Regions from separate parts of the Homo sapiens genome. Here region 1 is linked to region 2. Evidence: promoter capture Hi-C in 16 types of primary human blood cells and fetal thymus (Javierre and others, 2016). All regions are on one chromosome and are shown on one strand. The core of a region is centred on a gene start or on the middle of the fragment in contact, and the rest is flanking DNA. Distances in the headings are between cores, read along the strand shown. Region 1 holds the start of ARHGAP42 (Rho GTPase activating protein 42). Region 2 holds the start of ANGPTL5 (angiopoietin like 5).

Region 1 (5,392 bases), core at 2,194-4,693, 1.2 Mb after region 2:
CAGCTACTTGGGAGGCTGAGGCAGGAGAATGGTGTGAACCTGGGAGGCGGAGCTTGCAGTGAGCCGAGATCGCACCACTGCACTCCAGCCTGGGCGACAGAGCGAGACTCTGTCACAAAAGAAAAATAAATAAATAAAATAAAAATATTGGATATTTAAACACGTGTTAAGTATGTTATATGTATTATTTAAAATTGAAATTATCTAGTTCAATTGAAATCTTCTAGTTCAATTTAAAGGAGCCTTCCAAATAGTCTACTGAAGAAATTACAACTTGAACCACAGAGCAAGGAGCATGTGTGACTCTTATTGGAATAGTCAGGCGTGTATTACCTAAGAGAGTGCAAGTCAAAACTCTCACGGGAAAAGTTAACAACAGGGATAAAAATAATATAATATGCTTAGAAATACACTGATAATTGCTTAATAAGGTTACATTAAGAATGCATTAATTATTAATAAAAATAACAGTGCCGTGCTAAAAAAACTGAAACGGGTAATGGATACATCTATTGAAATAGTCTATATAAAGTTAGGGAAGGTGAAGTCCTCCCCAGGCAGGAAAGAAAAACAGAAAAGACAGACTGGGGGAAGAAGGACTCCCTTAGTGGAGTGGGCAGACTTATGGTACAGGGACGCTCCCACAGTGGAATGGTCAGCCCCATGGTACAAGCACTGCCAGCTATGCCAGGGGACATGTCTGGGCTAGTGGTCAGGGCAGGGGCAGCCAGTGATAGAACCAAGCAGGCTTCAAATCCTTTCTGACACACTCCTCCTATCCAAGCAGCTGCAGCCCAGCCTCAGAGCATCCTTCCTAAGGGACAAAAGGTGGCTTGGTACGAAAAAAATCAGTGCTACAGTGTGACTTCAAGGGTTCCTTTGCTCCAAAATCCCTCCCATTTGGCAGCTGCTGTTAGGAATCCTTTTACCAAGGAATAAAATCTTTTCCTTTTCACAATGAAAGAAGTAATAATCAAACGTTAGTTAAAGTAATACACTCTCACCACAAACTTAAGAATCCTAGAAAGATAGCAGGTTGTATAATTAAGTGCATAAGCCAAATTAATGATGCAGGGCCTATATCTTCAAAGAGCCTACGCTCCCAAGATTTCTTCACTTATGAATGGAAGAACAAAACTATAATGATGGGAATCACCTGACTTTTACAAAGCTAGATTCAACCATCATAATAAAGTATGTAATGTCACTCGTAATATAATGTACATGTCAGAGCATTTATCACAGGTATGTAAGTATTTTGACCTTCTGAAACACTAAAGTTTATCTCAAGCAGAGCGGGGAGAAAAATGTAGAATATCTGGCACCTCCAACAAGAACTGGCTTGGCATTTGACACTCTGAGATGCAGCTCTTTTTGAAGAGGCATCATGCTCTCTTAGATGCAAAGAGGTTAGTCCCGCGAGACTTTAACCAGGATTTGCAAGCCAGAGGAAGGACAGTTCACATTAGTGTTTATGTAGGGTGGCAAGAATTGCAGACAAACTATATTTTTCACAAATCACAGTAAATACCATTATTAGTAGTAGCCTCAAATTCAGAAATTAAGTGAATATGGGCATAAAATATATTATCTTTACCTTGGTTAAGTAACACAAGTGGTTAAGTAAATGTTTTAACATTTGGGATGATTAAAAGATATTTTGGAGCACATTAATTTCAAGACATCTTGCTAAGCTCTCTCCTTACTGTTAATACATGTTTCAAAATATAGATCCGATACTAGTATTGTCTCAGTTTTAGGCGCACACATCCCTATCATGTTGTTATACAAAGATGATGCCCCCATATATGTCCTGGGGGTAACTAGATCACCCAAAGGTCTCTCTACCTTTTGAAAGTACCTCACTCACCCAGCTTTAAGTGACCAGAGATTCCACGGCTTCATTTCAGTAGCTAAAACATCCAGAAGCCTCTATTAAGATGCAAATACTTTTCACAGGCTCCTTTGAAGATGGAAAATAAATAAATACATAAATAAATAAAAATAAATTTTTTAAAAGATGCAAATACCTCCTGGGAAAGGTAACAAGCCATATCATGTAATTGTGCTCAATTCTCTGTAAGAGAAACTCTTCAGTTTCAGATACTCTTAGGTCTTAGGAATTGAAAGCTAAGATCCAGAGGATAAAAGGAGGAAGGAAAATTTGATCAAGAGGTGTATGGGAAAGGAGGTGGAAGAAGCCCTATATTATAGACTATAACAGTCTTTATATTCTACAGATCATCAAAAGTTCTGATTGGCCTTTAACCCCTTAACTTTCATCCCAATGACACACCCAACACCCACACAATGCAAACCAAAACTAAGACGCACAGAAAACTTGCAGAGTTAAAATGCACTGGTGCCTTGCTGTCTTCCATTATCTTACAAAATGGCAAAACTGCAAATGTATGCTTTTTAAAAAGCCAACTCAATGACTGTGTCCAATGAAGAGCCACTGACGTATGAGAGACATTAATAATTTTCTTTCAATATCACTAAACTAGCCTAATTTTATCTTTAAGACAAACTCTTGATTCCCCCCTTAAGGGCTTTTTTAGTTCAAACTATTAATAGACACAATAAATTAAAAAAAAAAAATTAAAGTCCCCAACATCTTCCTAGGAGCATTACACAACGAGATGACTTTGAACGACTTTCCTCAGGATATATTCCAGTGCCCTGTAGAGAACTTTCCCCATCCCTGTAGACATGTGAGTAAGTAAAGAACACCTCAAGAACAAACTTTGTTGGCCACCAGCAGGGGAGCTCTTCAGCTTTTGTCCCCAAATCCATTCAAACAAAAGAAGCTCCGACTCCTCCAACCCACCCTTCGGACCCGCACCCCGCGGGGACTCTCCAGATGCGGGTGTCCACTCCCCCGCCAGCCCTACTTACTCCTCAACGCCCCAATGAGCAGAGAGCCGTCCTTAATGAGCTCCTTGATGAACTTGTTGGTTCGCTCCAGCTCAATCTCGTGACACTGCAAGCGCTCCCTGAAATCTGGGCTGTCCAAGTAGGAATCGCTGAACTCCAGAGTGGGCAGCCCCATGGCACAGGCGCTGCCAGCGGCGGCCGCGGACACGTCCGGGCCGGAGGTCAGGGCGGGGGCAGCCGGCGGCCGCGGCGGGCGCTGGGGTCGCGCGATCGCGGGGAAGGCGCCGGGACGCGAGGGGACTGATTGCGCGGAGGAAACGGGCCCCGAGCGCCGCGCCGCCTGCGCCGGGCTCAGTCTTCCTCCCCCGAGGCTAGGCGAGCGCAGGCGCGGGCGGCGGGCCGAGGCGCGAGTCCCCTCAGGTTGTTGTCATCTGGACGCATCGTCGTTCGGAACGCGGGGGCGGCGAGGCTCCGGGCCGCGGCCGGAGCAGGAAAGTTTCTCTCACGGCGCGCAGACACTTCCGGCAGTTCCACTCCCCAACTCTCTTGACAGTCGTCGGCGTTGTGAGCCAGAAGCAGCGCACAGCCGCAACTCCGGCCGGGCTGGGGAAACCCTCCCCCTCGGCGGACGCAGGCTCAGAGCGCTTGCAAATCGCACCCGGGCTCCCAGACCCTCCTCCCCGCCGCCGCGCTCCCACCCAGCGCCACCCCGCCCCTTCGCCCCTTTGCCCTCCTGCCCCACCCGTCCGCCCGCACTGGGCTCCAGGGCTCCCCGCGCTGCAGCCCCGCGCTTGCGCTCCGGCCTTGGCTGGGGTGTTAGCCCTGTCCCCTCTTGGGCCCCTGGTTTCGGCTAGCCCTTGGTGACACTTCGGGGTCCCTCGCTCCACAAAAGGATCTGACTCCCAATATACCTCCCCTAACAGTGTCCCCTCCACCCACTCCCTACAATTCTCTGGGAGAAAAACCAACGTTAAGTTTCCCTAAAGTCTGAGTATTTTGAAGCGTAGATGGAAGATACTACTGTCTAGCGTTCGTTTAGATTTTACTTCACACTTCCCCACCGAATGCATTTGAATTCCACGTTGAAAAATTGTCCCGTCGCTCTCCCACCCCTCAGCTTCAATGATCCAGCCTGGAGGTGTTTCTTCCCCCTGCCCCCACTCCATAGCTGGGAAGGTGGGACGATTTTTCAAGTCATCCTCACTCTGCTTACGTGCTCCTACTTCTAGTAGAATACCTATTTGCATCACAATAGTAGTATCTCCTATTGGCACCTGGATGGAATTGTCCTAGGAGCGGGAAAATTTTCAAATTGTTGAAGTGGACTGGAGTTTGAAATAAATAGTTAACTCCTACCCACAGGCTTTATCCTTCCTCCGGTGGAGGTTCACCTAATAAATTTCTGTTCTCTTAAAACCTTGACAGCAAAAGAAACGACTGCTTTACATCTCGTCCTGACATCATCTATAGGATTTCTGAGAACTCGGATATTGTTCTTAAGGATCTGCTTTTAATTTCTGCATTTTCATTGCTTTGTCCATATGAACCATCTGTTTAAAAACTATTCTACAGATCATGGGAAAAATTCCACTAAAGTGCTTTACATTTTTCCCAATTAAGTTTCAGAGCCAGTCAAGATTCTTGGTTTCAATTTTTTAAATGTACAGGAACATTAAAAATAACATGTAAACCTAAAACAGATAAGATAATGTAAACAGTATGGGCCAGGCGCAGTGACTTAACGCCTGTAATACCAGCATTCTGGGAGGCTGATGCAGGAGAATCACTTGAGGTCAGGAGTTGGAGACCATACTGGCCAACACGGTGAAACCCAGTTTCTACTAAAAAATACAAAAATTAGCTGGGCCTGGTGGCGCACGCCTGTAGTCCCAGCTACTTGGGAGGCTGAGGCAGGAGAGTCACTGGAATCCGGGAGGCGGCGATTGCCATGAGCCGAGATTACGAGATTACTCCACCGCACTCCAGCCTGAGTGACAGAACGACTCCATCTCAAAACACCTTCCATCCATATTCACATCTTTGGCCCCATATTGGCAAAATGACCAGTCACTATTAGAGCCATTTTAACTCCAAGTGTTAAATTTGTTTTTGTTAACTAAATACTCTTCAATTTTTTTTTTCTTTTGCAGGTTTGGGGAAGGGAGAGGCAGTAATTCTGTTTGTCAGTTAATGAAATGACATGACATAAACACCAGTGGACTGTGTCTCACCAGAGGTGATTTTGTATTTACTCATTACTCTGCCTGAAAGACAAAAAATCACCCAGGCCAAACAGTTTCCTTTCAACTTTTGCCATGTTGCTGTTCCTATCAACTGAATCCAGTGCCAAACTGCTGAGATACGAAACGATAAAATATAACATTCTCTTCTTGTTTTTCATTAAATCATCGTACTGTGATTAAGTCTTTAAAAATGCATCATTGGTGTTTCATAAGTTGCATTTAATATGTTGGATGTCAATGTTTAGTTTTCTTTAAAAGTGTTACATGCCAGG
Region 2 (5,637 bases), core at 3,138-5,637:
TTTGGCTGGGCGCAGTGGCTCACACCTGTAATCCCAACAATTTGGGAGGCCAAGGTGGGCAGACTGCTTGAGCCCAGGAGTTTGAGATGAGCCTGGGCAATATGGTGAAACCCCGGCTCTACAAAAAATGCAAAAATCAGCCAGGTGTGGTGGTGTATGCCTGCAGCCCCAGCTACTTGGGAGGCTGATGTGGGAAGATCGCTTGAGCTTGGAGGGGGTTGAGTCTGCAGTGAGCTAAGAACACGCCACTATACTCCAGCCTGGGCAACACAGCGAGACTCTGTCTCAAAAAAAAAAAAAAAAGTTCATTGAATTACCGTGTAATCACATTTAGTACCTCATCATTAGATGTAGAAATATATGAGATTATACTGAAGTTATAGATTGTAGGGCATATCTATTTGTCTTTTTTAGAACAAACAGCTTGTTTAAAAACTTTTTACGCTAAGATGGAGGTCCAAAATTCTCTTTAAAGGCTGCATTTAATCAAGATTGTAAAAATCTCATAAATTGATTATTAATGGTAAAACAGAATACTAGAAATACACTCAATAATAAACTATGCGGTACATAATTTGTTAATTCAACATGTTAATTTCAGGATCCTATAGTGCTTCAGCATCAATATTATAAAGAAACTCTATTATTACATATTTCAGAATAACAGGTTTATTTGAACATTTTGTTGTTTAGACCTTTGCTGATGGGGGCTTATTTGTTTTCTTTTGTGTTGCTATTTAACCATCTTTATACCATAGGCCATAATTCATTTTACCTTCATTTTAAATAAAATTTTACACTACTTCAAGACAAAGACCCAAACACACTCACAAACATATTTTTACTTAAAGATTTCTTTTAAAGGATTTATAAAAATCAAACCAAAAGGGAAGAAAATTTGGTTCTTTGCTAGCACAGAAAAACTGTTTTTCTCTGATAGAATATTTTAACAAGAGCCAGACTTCAACAAGATGTCTAGGTATTAAAAGTGACAACTCGGCAGTAAAGAAAAGTGCAACTTCCTTTCAGGGTGCACAGGGCCAACATGAGGTTGAGGGGAGGAAGATGCTTTGGCTTAAGTGAGAAGCAAGGAGGAGACAGTTCTGTTCTCTGTTTGACATGTTTGAAGTCTCATCACGACAGCATAAAGAAAATCACAAATGTAATGTTTGTAATGTTCTGACAACTATATAGTCTTCAATTTAACCAAATGATTTTCTACTTTCTTTATATATAAGTATAATAGTATAGTATGTTTCCTGCTGAATTATTAATTATTAATATAAAGAATCCTGCTGCTTTTGTATCATTTCAAATATGGTATTCAAGTTTAAAAAAATTAGATGGCTGGTTAAATTTTGTTTTTTTATACAAGCTGTATGGTAAAGGTAGGAGTTCCATAAAAAAAACACTGCTAAATACCTGTCCAAAAGAAGGGAATTTTTATATACTTAACATTAAAAAAACAAAACCAAGAATAATATGTATTGTAACATGTGATTTTAAAGCATAGCTTATTCTACCCCACTCTATCCTCACTTCTCCTCTCCCAACTTAGTCTTTTATCCAGTTAGGTTGTTTAAAATGTTGCCATCACAAATAACTATGTATTATATAACCCATTTTTTCCCCAAATCTATTAAAGCTATGTTGATTCGATTTTTCCTCTACTGTACCTTCTTCCTCTCCCTTAACTCAGGTACTCTAAATCCCTTGCTTGGACGACTACAGTGCTCCTCTAATTCTTCTTACTCTAAACCTCTATTTGAACCTACACAAAGTCAGCTAAATGCAAATCTGATTGTGTTTCTCTTTGTTGTTCTCCAAAAGCTCCCTATCACCTTCATGAAAAATTCCAAAGTTCTTGGACCTATATATAAACCATTCTATAATATAGTTTGTTTTTTCAACTTTATTTCTTAACATTTCCCTGTATGAATCCTATGTCCAGACGCACTAAGATAATTATAAACAGAACAACCCGTGATGTATCATACCATTATCTCTTGGCACATGCTTGGCTAACTCTACTCATCCTTTCAGGGCCATCTCAAGCAGTTCGTTCTACCTTGAAGCCTTTTCTAACCTCCACTAGATGACTTGATGACACCTTCATGAGTACATGATAAGTGTCTTCTCTACATTTCTGTAACTCTCACGCCTGGCATGGTTCTTAGAATATAGTAATGATTTAATAAAAACCTCCTGAATTATTCCCTTGGAGAAAATTCTCTGGGGTAGATATGAGGACAAAAGGCATATGCATTTTTATATCTTTTAGTGCATTATAGAAAACTTGGCTCCTAAGGGGGTTATACAAAAGTATATGCCATTAGAAATGTATTATGTACCTAAGTTTCAAAATCTCATGAGCATGGGGCAGTACCTTTTAGAAACACAAGGTACAAAACTATGTTTTATTATGTATGTATTAGCAAAATACAATTTATTTATTTATTTATAGACAGGGTCTCACTCTGTTGCCTAGGCTGGAGTGCAGTGGCATAATCTCGGCTCACTGCAACCTCCACCTCGCAGTCTCAAGCAATCTTCCTGCCTCAGCCTCTTAAGTAGATGGTACTACAAGCATGCACCACAACACACAGCTAATTTTTGTATTTTTTGTAGAGATATGGTTTCACCACGTTGCCCAGGCTGGTTTCGAACTCCTGGACTCAAGCAATCTGCCTACCTCGGCCTCCCAAAGTGCTAGGATTACAGATGTGAGCCACTGGGCCCAGCTGAATGGGTTCACTTCACTTTCTATAGTAAAAGTAAGATCCCATCAGTGAGCCTGGGGGGAAAAAAAGACAGGTGGGTGGGAGTGTGTGTGTTTGTGCTGTTTGTTGGAACAGACCTGTCAGGGCATCCAAGTCTTATCAAGTGGTAAGACAGTCTATCGAGTGTGATGGAAGGTGACAGAGACCTGGCAGAGGCATTCATAGGAAAAAGAAAGAACCCTGTTCCTGTTTAGGTGAAGCTGGAAACCATCAATCTTTAGTGGTACAATCTGTATTGTTTTGTGATTTTTCTTTGACAGCATTTTTATTATTCGCATGAAGGAGTAAAGGAGCAGGACTATAGTAGTTATTGAGTGGCTGAGGCAGAATGATTGGGGTACAAATAGCCAAAGATGTTGGTGAGAGAAAGTTCAAATAGTTAAGAATAGGGTATAAACTGGAGAGGAAAGGAGAGGCAAGGTGGGTGCTAGGATAAAATGGGAGGGTTGAAGGGTAGAGATATTTATGAGGAAAAAAAGGCAGGTATAAGGGGACATGAGAGACCTTCCTTTTTTTTTTTTTTTTAAATTCCATTTCTATTTGAACTCTCAAAAGAGAAAAAGAGATTGAAATGACAGAACTTTAGCTAATTTTAATTAAATAAACTTCATAAGGTTTTGTTGTTTTATAACCTTTAGAGTCAGAAAATTCTGACTCCAGTGAGAAAATGTCTTCAACAGAAAGCCAGATGGCCTCTGAGTATCATGTTCATATTTGAAATTGAAATGTAAATGTTACCACATACTTGCTTATTTTAAGGCTGTGGTCCTTTCATTTGCTTTCTTTCCTTTTTTTCATTTAGTCATGTAAATTTGAGCACCTACTCTGTGCTAGGTATCCAATGGGAAACATTATAGACACAAAGAACATTCCAATTAAACTTATATAAAAGGTACTTTAGTGTTTTTCCAGCTAGCAAACATAATGTTCTTGATTTAGTGTTATAATCTTTATTATGTTCAAAAATAATTCCTCTGTTCCAATTTAAATATATATTATCTAAACATATATATACACACATATGCAAACTAGCAAAAATATATATAAACCAGCACACACACACACACACACACACACACACACACACACACACACACACATTGTTGGATTTTATCAAAGTCTATTGGTCATCTATTAAAATGTTCATTTATAACTTGCCTAATTTTAACTATATATTTAGCCTTTAAGGATCTTTTTTAGTGTTGTATTTCTTTATAGGAAATGTCATTCTAATTCTGGAATAGAGTCTATTTGGTTGTGTTCATTCAAAGTATTGCTGGATTCTATTTATGAATATTTTCTTTGGCATTTGTATCAAAAATTTATACCACATAAAATTTAAAAAATGAGGCCTACAACCATTTTATTAATGAAAATAACAGAAAATACACTCTCAATGAGCCATTTACAATACTTCCCTATTTTCTGATTTAGAGATAAATCAGGGTCGTGTAATAGCAGTTGTGTCCAAGAAAATATAATGTCAAGAGGCCAGAATTAAATCCATACAGAAAATGATTGTGTTCATTTCAGAGTAACCTTTAAGAGGGCAATTTTGGGGAGCAGCAAGGGCAAAAGCCAAACTGAATGGGGTTAATAATGAATAGATGAGAGGAACTAGAAGCAGCTATTGCAAGCTACCATTTTGAGAACCTGCCCAAAGAAAGAAAAGACTGAAGGGATGGAAGATTGCAGAAAGCATGATCGGAGAAGAGATATTTTACTTTTAGTGAAGCTCTATACACATTTGTCTTCCTCACTAGATTTGTATCCCTAGAACCTAGAACAGAGTCAGCCAAAGAGCAGGCACTCAATACAAATTGTTGACTTGCTGCTAAAATTGTAACAGAGTACAAAGAACATCCTAGAAATTGGAGACAAAGGGGATAAGAAAACAGAGTTAACTTGGAAAGAGAAGACACTCATCTCTGACAAGACTGAAGATGATTACACAACACCATCATTGCCAACCAAGTCCTTTGGGAATACAAAGGTTAAATCCTAATCATCACAACAGTCTCTAAAGGAATAAACCTGATTTACAGATTTTGATAACAAAATACTTCTCCTCTTTCCATTTTCTACAATGCAACCAACAGCAACATCAAAGGTAGGCTTAACCAACTCTTCGAGAAAAGTCAGAGTTAATCCAGATTGTAAAGCGTCCAGGTCCCCTGTTTCTCATTTCCTCTTTTCTGTCGCTCTGACAACAGACTGGGCAGAGATGGAAAACAAAACAACTTACCAAACTGTGTAGCCTTTAGCAGCTCTGGTAAATGCATTTAGGGCTGTGTTAGGATAACTGTTAAAACGGACTCTTTAGGATAGCAAAACATTTTACTTATTTGTGTAATTTCTCTCTCCAAGTAGTACGATAAATCAGGAAGTAGTTAATATGTAAGTAAAGAACATAATGGCATAAAAATATCCCCACAGAATACACAGTTGATGTGTTTTAAAATTCACAAAAATTTTACAAAGTTGAAGAATGGGAGTAGGATAACAGGGTGATGGGGGGAAGCAGCCACAGAATTAGATAAAATGGTATAATTTCAGGTCTAAGGTGAGACACGACAGTTGCTAAAGGAAATATCTGCACTAAGATGACTTGCTAGTTTTGATCACCCTGCGTCAAAGGTAATGGGAATCTAATTGGAAAAAGATGGGCCCCGTTTTCAACATCGCTACCCTGGCAGCCACAGGCTGGGAAGGATACAGGTAAGAGCCAGGTCGGTGATGCCCGCCGCTCTCCCGAGGGCCGAGGGGGGCTCTGTCGAGGTTGTCCGATGATTCAGTGCCCAGTTCCCCGACCGCGCTCCGGGTTCCGGGCCTCCCCGCCAGCATCCTTCACTTCAGC

Evidence for each region. The method cuts DNA at HindIII sites, captures the fragments that hold promoters and counts their contacts. A CHiCAGO score of 5 or more calls a contact.
Region 1: a contact is called between the fragment with the promoter of ARHGAP42 here and the fragment with the promoter of ANGPTL5 in region 2, in 1 of 17 cell types (total B cells). The highest score is 5.7, in total B cells.

What each region holds. Positions count from the first base shown.
Region 1 is chr11:100,685,339-100,690,730 of GRCh38, reverse strand. It overlaps ARHGAP42 (Rho GTPase activating protein 42), which reads right to left and starts at 3,443. Exons shown (of 24, transcript NM_152432.4): 1 at 2,899-3,443. The coding sequence starts at 3,052. It overlaps ARHGAP42-AS1 (ARHGAP42 antisense RNA 1), which reads left to right and starts at 2,776. Exons shown (of 2, transcript NR_133571.1): 1 at 2,776-3,098; 2 at 5,028-5,392. RefSeq lists enhancers at 2,679-3,048, 3,369-3,418, 3,132-3,842 and silencers at 3,069-3,238, 3,539-3,728, 3,779-4,073. The HindIII fragment of the contact is 7,960 bases long and covers 1-5,392 here.
Region 2 is chr11:101,915,272-101,920,908 of GRCh38, reverse strand. ANGPTL5 (angiopoietin like 5) reads left to right here and starts at 4,387. Exons shown (of 9, transcript NM_178127.5): 1 at 4,387-4,890. It overlaps CEP126 (centrosomal protein 126), which reads right to left. Exons shown (of 11, transcript NM_020802.4): 1 at 5,497-5,637. The coding sequence starts at 5,624. The HindIII fragment of the contact is 9,032 bases long and covers 1-5,637 here.